Regions from separate parts of the Homo sapiens genome. Here region 1 is linked to region 2. The links are contacts of gene promoters, found by promoter capture Hi-C in human tissues and cell types (Jung and others, 2019). All regions are on one chromosome and are shown on one strand. The core of a region is centred on a gene start or on the middle of the fragment in contact, and the rest is flanking DNA. Distances in the headings are between cores, read along the strand shown.

Region 1 (3,700 bases), core at 1,145-3,644, 75 kb before region 2:
GGCCCTGCAGGCAGGAATGCTGTAAGAGTGTGTATGCATGCATGTGCATGCGTGCATGTTTGTTTGACTGGTCAGGTGTTACTGTCACCAGAAGGCATTTTTTGAGCACCCAGTGTCCACTTTCGGGATGAGAAACTTGTGTACACAGGGTTCCTCGTTGGCATTGGCTGCCCTTTGCCAAGGCAATTATTAGACCTCAAGAAGATAGTGTTGTTGCTTACAAAGTCAGTGCCTCTAGCTAGTTGTGCGCACTGAGCCTCTGGCTGGGGGCATTAGCTCTCTGCTCACTAAGCTTCTTTATTATATTTCCTGGCCAGTTCTGACCGGTTCTGTAGGCACCCAAGGCTGCCTTGTTCAGTCCCTGCTGGAAAATGAAAAAGGAAAAACTTGCTTTAGGCATTAGGCCAAGAGTCGGATGTACAACCCAGTGGGGTTGGAGAGTTTTACTCAAATCAGATGCTGGCCCAGAGAAGGAAGTAGACATGAATTCAAAAACCGGTAAAAGGCCCTGGTAGAACACTACATGACCCCTCTGATAAATCATGCCCTCTCTGATGTTCAGTGGCCTCTGCTGCTGTCATCAACCAGAAAGCTGAATGAGATGATGAATCGGCTACAAGCTAATTAACGGGAAAAGCGCTCCTGGAAAACAGTACGGGTCCCAGTCCCTACGTTTAAAGATTGGACTACACTCTCAACGCAGCTTCTTTGGACCACTGTTGGCCCCAGGGGTCCACCAAAAGCGTCACAAAATGGCCTTTTGTAGCCTCCATGTGGCCACCGTAACAATGAGTCTATTTCTTTACTGGCAAGTATTAATTATTCACTTGTAATTGACAAAGCCAGACATCAGTCACCTCACTGGAGTCTTTATGAAAGGCTTTTGGTCCTGTCATTCTGAGGAGCAAAGCCATGCCTAGGGTCCAGGGGATGGCCCCTGCATCAGTAGTGAGATGGTGGGAGAAGGGGGGCAGGCTGCTGCCTTCTTGGCAGTGAATGGAGGCAGGGGAGGAACTAGAATATCTTTGGATGCTCTTACTACCCAAGGGGTGCATGAAAGTGCCGAGCAGAATGCTTAGCACATAGTAAGTACTAGCATATTTATGTATTTATTGTTATAATGTATTAATTACATAATCATTAAGAATTTGGCTTATGTATGTAATCAACCCTTGGCTATTACCAGCCCCTCTCCCTCCAGAGCTTTCCTGAATTTTGCTTTTTTGAGGGAAGTTGGTCTCTGTGACCAGTAAACCCAGCCCCAAGTTTACCGGCCGAAGGAAGGGAAAGTTAAGAGTGATAGGGCATGAAGTGAAAGGCTTCAGGTGGGAAGTGCTCTTAAGTAGCACAAGAGAGGTGGGTGGAACCTGAGTAGGTAGGGAGAAGTGGGAGGGAACAAGCCAAGCAGAAGCCCAGGGCCATTCTCACATTTCAACACGTAGAGTTAAGGAAGGGCCTCTTCCTCTGTGAGAATTCAGCATTTTGCAACCATCCAAAAATGTTGAGGGCATGCTTTGCTTCCAGGGCAGACAGAGCAGCACAGTGAGCATGGGACACAGGATCCCTGACTTGCTGTGTGCCCTTAAACCAGCCACTACCTCTCTGACGTTCAAAATTGAGCAATGGAAGGCAGCCTGCCCAACTGTTACCTGCCTGTCATCATGAAAGCCTGCGGATGAGGTAATGTCTGTAAATCCCAGTCTGAGAAAAAAAAGCCGTGGAAATAGAGAAGGAGCCTCCTGAATGTGTGACTCTTTTGGGTAAATGCCCTCCATTCCTTAAGAAACAATTTATTAATTATATATTGTGTGTCACTTTAAGAAGATGGATCTGTGGCCTCTCTGTACTGTTGAGCCAATGGGAAGCTTAAAGGCACTTTGTGATTCACAGATTCTGTCAAGGCCCCTGGATGGCCTTGTCTGTACAAAGACACTTCAGAATTCAGTCAGTGGGTATGGGACGCCTCCCAGGATGCAAAGAGCTTAGATATTGGCTTTCTAGCCATGGGCATTATGCTAAGGGCTGTGTGTGATGTACCTCAAAAAATAGCCATTTAAGCCATACTTGGGCCCTGGCAACAGAGGGTGCAAATTCTTGAAAGAAATTGTTTTGAGAAGGCAGAGCTTGAGTTCAGGCAGAATTTCTTGCAGGGATCATTCTGGTTGCGTGGCATTTTGATAGACTTTGGGCAACTCAGATACAGGCAGTGAGAGAGGGAAGTAAATAGGACCTTCTTGCGAGATGCCTGAGAAAGACCCAGTGATGACTTCATCAGTAGACCTTTTGATTCTGTTTGCGTCATTATTTGGTCATTGTAGAGCAATGGTTCTTAGGCTTTAATCTCTAGGTAAAACAGAGGTGTGTTTAGTCTGTCCATGTTCTCTGTTTTCTAAGTAAGGCAGGAGGTGAGGTCCTCTGCAGGAAATAAAGGTGATGGACTGGTTAGGAAACTTCAGGAGACTTCAGGGTTTGGAACAGTTGCCTATGTGGGTGGAATAAGAAATAAACTGGGGAAGAATGAGAGAATTGTCTAACTTCACTGAAGGCCTGGCTGAGATCAAAGAGAATTTGCAGGGCTGACCCTCAGAGAAGACATGCAGTAACTCTTAAGGAATATCCGAGAACTATTTTTGATTTGTGCTTTTAAAATATGATGCTTTAAGATTTGTTTTGGCAAGATATGAATGGCAAGATAAGAATTCAGAACTAGAGGTCAGCCCCCTATCTCCAAGTCTGTTATACTTCCATATGGGAAAGAGAAATGAGGACCTGCTTCTTAGGGTTTGAAGTGGAAACTATACGACAGAAGGATTTTCTAAAGAACTCTCCTCAGATTCTTATATTGACAAGGCAGCCTTGGATATGGGACCTTAGAGAAGCATGATATTTTAACTTTCTTGTTAATTTTTTTAAACCAGAAGTTAAGAATTTTGGTCATTGGCTCATGCAGTCAACAAATCATTCATGAAGTATTAATTAAGCAAGTAATTCCTGGTGTGTGCCTATCTCTGTGCTGGTTGCTATGGGTCAAACTCAGATAAGATGACTATCCTTGGCATTCTTAGCAATCCAAAGAATTAGTGAAATATAAAGCAGTTTGTCGTGCAGTTAAAAACTGTGGACTCTAGACTGTGAGTGCTAAGGGAGTGAGAGAAATAAAGGTCATTAAGGGGCTTGGCTGGTCAGACCTTTGTGGAAAAGGCATGTCTTCGTGTGGGCCATGATAGATCGGTAAGATTTGAGAAGGGAAGAAGACAGTCCATAAGGGAGTGGAGACAGTTTGAGCAAAGGCACAAAGGAAGAGTATCCTTGGACAGGTTTATTATGCCCTGTATACCTTGGCCACAGAGAATGGTCTGCATGATCCTTAACACATGTCTTTAAGGAAGCCCTTTGGATGGAATGTCTCAACTGTAGTCATGGTCATTTGCTTTAGTGTTGGGAGGGTCCTGAGAGAGGCCCAAATCCAGTGATTCTTAACTGGTTGCTGTTGTGGTTTTTTTAGTACACAAAATGGACAATGTTGACATGCTGAACACATCAGCCCCCACAGCCAACCCCCCAACTCTGCTCCATTCCTGCCACTCAAGGGAAGAGATGAACATGCAAGCAATAATATCACACAGAGATCTTGAACCCTCGCCTCACATACAATAAAATGTACCTTGTTTGCAAACCTCAGTGCTTAAGCTATTATTAG
Region 2 (5,127 bases), core at 1,395-3,894:
AAGATCCGGGGCCTCCTCTGGCCATCTCACCAACCCATTGGCCTCCTCCATGTGGCCAGCCCTGTAAGACCATCGCGGCTCATGGCAACGGACACACCAGAACTGGAGGCAGATGAAGGCCAAGACGGCTGTGAAGCAGGCCAGCAGAATGGCCATCAGCACCCAAAGGGAGATCTGGGGGTCTACCAGGGAGCTTCCAGGAGCCAGCGGACTCTTATCCAGGGTGTGGAACATGGTGCAGTAGTGCCTGTAAGGGAAGGCAGCCTTCTTACAGCTGATGCACAGGAAGTAGAGAGTGGAAGGGGCAAGATGTTCCAGCACCACGGAGCTGATCGTTCGAGGCACCTTCTCCTCGTGGTGGAAGCTGTAGCGAAGATAGCCAGAGAAGATGCTGTTCCAGTTGGGCCTGTACATAATATGGTAATAGTCCTCCAGGCAGGGCTCCGAGGACGACCAGGAGATGATGGCTCCTGTATAAGAAATGTTCCCCACCTCGATGTTCATCCCGATTCTGGAACCAGAATCAAAGTGAAGAGTGACATCCCCTGATTTAAGTATGTATTTATCATAATCATAGCCACCATTTATTGCACATTTGAGACGGGCACTCATGTTGCCCTCATCTTACAGACAAAGAAATGGAGGCCGAGAGGTTCTGTTATTTAGGCATAGCGAAAAAGTGGCAGGACAAAAGTTAAAACTGGGGCTGTCCCATGCCAAAGTTCAGGCCTAAGAACAGATGCACCCATGCAATCCCAGCCACATCCCACCCTAGCTGAGATCCTTCAGATAACAAAGGGGATTTTCTTAAGGGGATTGTTCTCATCCCCTTAAGAAAAAAGAAGAAAAGGTAAGGAGAAATCAGTAGAACCTCAGAGGCTCCACCTTTATTCTCAGGTCTGTGACCTCCCCTCAGGCAATTGATTCACCTCAATTTTCCTTCTTGACCTCCTGTTTCTGCTCCAAGTACTGTGAGCTCAGTGATCTAGAACATTCTGCCCACTGCTTTTTTTAGCCTCCTGGTTCTGTTGCCCATGGTGAGTGGAAATTCGCTTCGTCACTCTTTGGCAGCTGATCTCACCCCAAAGCTTCTGCTCTTGTTTTGTTTGTTTGTTTTTTCAAAGCCAGCGGTACCAGGAAATTTATTTTATGGGTGAAGATAATCAGCCCCTAATATCAGCATAACTACCACTATTTAATTCTGCTGTTATTATGAATGTTAATCATGGTAATAACCACTCACAGTAAGTGGTTGCTATGTCACTTGTCATGCTAGATGATTCACAGGCAGTAATTAATTTCCTTTATTCTTCATCACATCCTCTGAGCTAGATTCCCATTTTACGGATGAGCAACCTGATGTCACACCGCTAATACGTAGAAAAAGGACTTAGTGCCGCCTAACCACTACATTTCCTAATGCAAGGCTGCCGGGTTTAGTTACAGACGTTATCGCAAAATGAGGTGCCAGGACTGAGACCCAGTTGCTGTTTTTCCAGACAAATCAAATGAGCCCTCTTTAGATTGCCAGGCCCCGCTTTGATAAGAGAGAGCCATCTTCAAGTATTTTAGTTTCTCTCATGCAGTTCCCTCTACTGATTGCCCCTGATCAGAAATACAGAGACAGTCATAGTCAGCCTACGCATATTCACATAACAGTCTCACCCTGCTTTGTCTTCCGCCTCTCCTCCCTCACATGAAACCCCGTAGGTTTCATTTTGGGTTGCAGTGACATAGTAAACAGCTGTCAACTGGATTTTCGCCTGCATTGGATATTAAGCCAAACCAATGGCTATTATGACCTGCCTTTCTCTCACCTCTGCTTTCCCCCATCCTCTTGTGTTTGTGCCCATTTTCCTCCAGGAGTGGAGCTGCAGAAAGGTGCACAGCATTGAGTAGTTTCTTAATCCTTGTTTTTCTTCTGTAAGGGTAACAGTGAACTAAGATACTCAGGAAGGTGAATAGTGTCTTTCTATGTGGCTGAATATTTCTTCCCAGTAAATAGGGAACGAAAGGGATGAGACGGATGTGCTCAGACCCTTCCAGGGAAGGTCATCATGAAGGAGACCGAATGTTTATGTTTCCTAGCTTGGTGTCCTCTACACACTCATCCTCCCCACACCACACATCACTATAAATACACTTTCGACCACGATGAAAAGAGCTTAATTCATTATAGGCAGCCACCTGTGTAAAACCTTTCCATCAGGAGTAATCAGGAATCCTGTTTCTTGTCACGCACAAATGTTCTCTTGGCTTCCTATCTGCCACTAGCTGTCTGTACAGATGGAATTACCTCAGCAGACATTTTTAAGAGCTTTCTGTCAAGACGCAAATAGCATCCTCACCTTTTAGGACCAGGTCCGTCTCCCTTATTGATTTTTCTTCCTCTGTTTCCGTTTCTAAATTCTCCCCTATTTTTAACTATTCATTTGCCCGGCCCTTCTCCAAGCAGAGTGTGAAAAGAAGCCATTTCCATTTCCAAGAAGAGCCATCTATATGTCTTACCTGATGCTTGCAGCGTGTCTGGTTAGAGCTCTGCCCTCCGAGGTGCAGTAGATTAAAGCTGAGAGAATGGGGCCTTCTCCCTCCTCTGCTCTGGGCTTTCCGTGTTGTTTCTCTCAACACTGAGTAATCCCACTGCCGCCCCTAATGCTCACATTATTCATTTCTTCAGATCAGCATCATTCACCATGGCAACCAGCAGGCATCTGTACGCACGATGCTTTCAGGGACCAGCCTGGAAAGGCTTTTGCCCAGTGAGAGGAGCTCTCATTCCTTTGGCTGAAAAAGGGCAGATGATCCCCTGAAAACTGGTCCCCAGTGCAGTACTAATTCTTCTAACACTCCTACATTTTCTCCCCAGTTGGCTGATTATTATTTTCTTGTCCCATCTAGATCCTCTTTGGCCAATGGTTTTAAATGCAAAGATGCTTTTCTCAGTTATTCCACAACCAAAGCAGTAATATTCATCTTCATCCCCTCCCACCCCTACACTTCCCCATCCCAACTGCCTACCCCACCTCTTTATCTTCATCTTTCTTTATTCTTGACTCATGTGCCATTACATAGTTATATGGTACTGGTCAAGACCCTTTTATTTTTATTGTCTGAGTCTCAGTTCCACCATCATCTGTAAAGCTGTGGGCTTGGGCTACATCAGGATGGCAGATCAGAAGGCAGAAGACCTGAGCCCTATCCCTGCACAGCCCTGAACCCCTGTCAAGCTTGCTAAACCATCATGGCACTCTCACTGGGTTGAATAATGCCCCCCCAAAATACATATCCATCCAGAACCTTAGGATGTGACCTGATTTAGAAATAGAGCCTTCGTAGATATAACTAGTTAAGGATCTCAAGATGAAATCTTCCTGGATTTAAGGGTGAGCCCTAAATCCAATGACTAATGTCTTTGTAAGAGAAAAGACAGAGAGACTCAAGGGGAAGAAGCCAAGGGAAAACAGAGGCAGAGAGTGGAAGGATGCTGCCATCAGCCAAGGAACACCGGGAGCCATCAGCAGCTGGGAAGGCAAGGAAACATTCTCCCCTAGAGCCTTGGAGAGGGCATGGTTCTGCGAGAGCCTTGATTTCAGGCTTCTGGTCTCCAGAACTGTGAGAGAATAAATTTCTGTCATGTTAAGCTGCCACATTTATGGTAATTTGTGATAGCAACCCTAGGAATCTAATGCAGCACTGCTTCCAGCTGGGTGCAGAAACAGCCCCAGAGTTCCTCTGAACACAAGCGTCCCAAGAAACTGCTTCCCAATCAATCAGTTGGAGTTGACGCCAGAAATGGAAACTGTTTGCTACTCCTGGATTGAATCATCCCCAGCGTTCCTTTCCTTTCAAGAATCCAGACTGCTTGCCTCCCCTTTTCTCATAAAGGGCCGTCTGGCTTTGAGGTTCCATCCCTTCCTGTTCCTTTCAACCTTGTAAGAACCCATTGCCACCATTCTATTGAGATCACAGGGTGTGTCTGGAATAGAGGGTGGAAAGTAGCTCAGATAGATGTAGACCTGAATAAATTTATACACATTATATGTTTTTAAAAGTCAGCTTTTCTCTTCTTGGTTCTTGGCCAAAGTATCCAAGTTAACCCATGAAGGTCTCTTTCTGATTCACATTAATGATAAAAGGTTAGGAAGAAAGCCAGGCACAGCTGCAGTGGTGTGCACCTGTAGTCCCAGCCACTTGGGAGGCTGAGGTGGGAGGATCACTTGAGCTTAAGAGTTCCAGACCAGCCTGGGTATTATAGAAAGACTTTTTCCCTTGGAAAAAAAAAAAAAAAAGAGCCGCCTTGGTGAGTTGTGACCCTACCCTTGGCCAAAGGTCTCCGGGAGGCTTGGAGTCTTGGGAACTCGGGAACAAGCCAGTGTTCCTTGATCAGAAAGTTGCTCTGCAGCTTGCCCATGGCATTCAGTCTTCCCAGGCGCCTGTCTTAAATCTGCAGCAATGCATGCAGCATGTCTCTTCCCATGCGAGCACAGCCAGGTCAAGTGCTAATGGTGAGTCCCCACGGAGCATAAAAGCATCCTCCCCACAGAAAGGCCACGCAGCTGTTTGCAGATGCCCTTTGAAAAGGTTATTTTGCGGGGAGTAAAAATACCAGAGTTAAGGGGTCTGAGGAGGAACAAGGTAGAACTCAAGCCTTTTTCCACAGAAAATTGGAATTTATTTTTAATATTCTTGGATGACATTTTTAACCAAGAGAAATTTTCCACTGTGGAATTAAGATACTCAGAGAATGTGAGGCCTCCAAGCCCTCTTGTTTCACAGTCCTGGGAGAAGACATGGCATTCCTCAGACCGCTTGACTGATGAGTGGCAGAGCTGCCAGTGAAATGGGGTGGGGCCCCAGACTCGGAGGCGGAGGCCAGGGTTCATCCCGCTCCTCTGAGCTGTCGCCGCTCACCAGCAGCACCCAGAGGAGCCAGTGCAGCCGTTTGTGAAGGAGATAAAGTATCTGGGACACCTGCCCCAGGACATTACACCCCAGCCAGGCTCACACTTTCTCCATCATCAGGGACAATTCCTCCAGAGTCTGTGCAAGTTGTAGCCTCTTCGCTCTCAGGCCAGGTGAGCCCCAGCTAGTTGACATCAGTAGTAAATTACTGCTAGAGGAAATCAG

The links. The method cuts DNA at HindIII sites, captures the fragments that hold promoters and counts their contacts. A contact is called where the count stands out against the background at its distance.
Region 1: a fragment that was not itself captured here is called in contact with the fragment with the promoter of FNDC9 in region 2 in 3 of the 25 tissues and cell types used here (H1 embryonic stem cells, dorsolateral prefrontal cortex and hippocampus).

Annotation. Positions count from the first base shown.
Region 1 is chr5:157,267,904-157,271,603 of GRCh38, forward strand. The region is part of intron 1 of CYFIP2 (cytoplasmic FMR1 interacting protein 2); the gene reads left to right. Among named protein-coding and RNA genes, the nearest start is that of CYFIP2, 3.6 kb to the left of the region's middle. The HindIII fragment of the contact is 6,073 bases long and covers 1-3,700 here.
Region 2 is chr5:157,343,033-157,348,159 of GRCh38, forward strand. FNDC9 (fibronectin type III domain containing 9) reads right to left here and starts at 2,645. Exons shown (of 2, transcript NM_001001343.4): 1 at 2,509-2,645; 2 at 1-511. The coding sequence starts at 504. All of the region lies in intron 23 of CYFIP2 (cytoplasmic FMR1 interacting protein 2), which reads left to right. The HindIII fragment of the contact is 6,264 bases long and covers 440-5,127 here.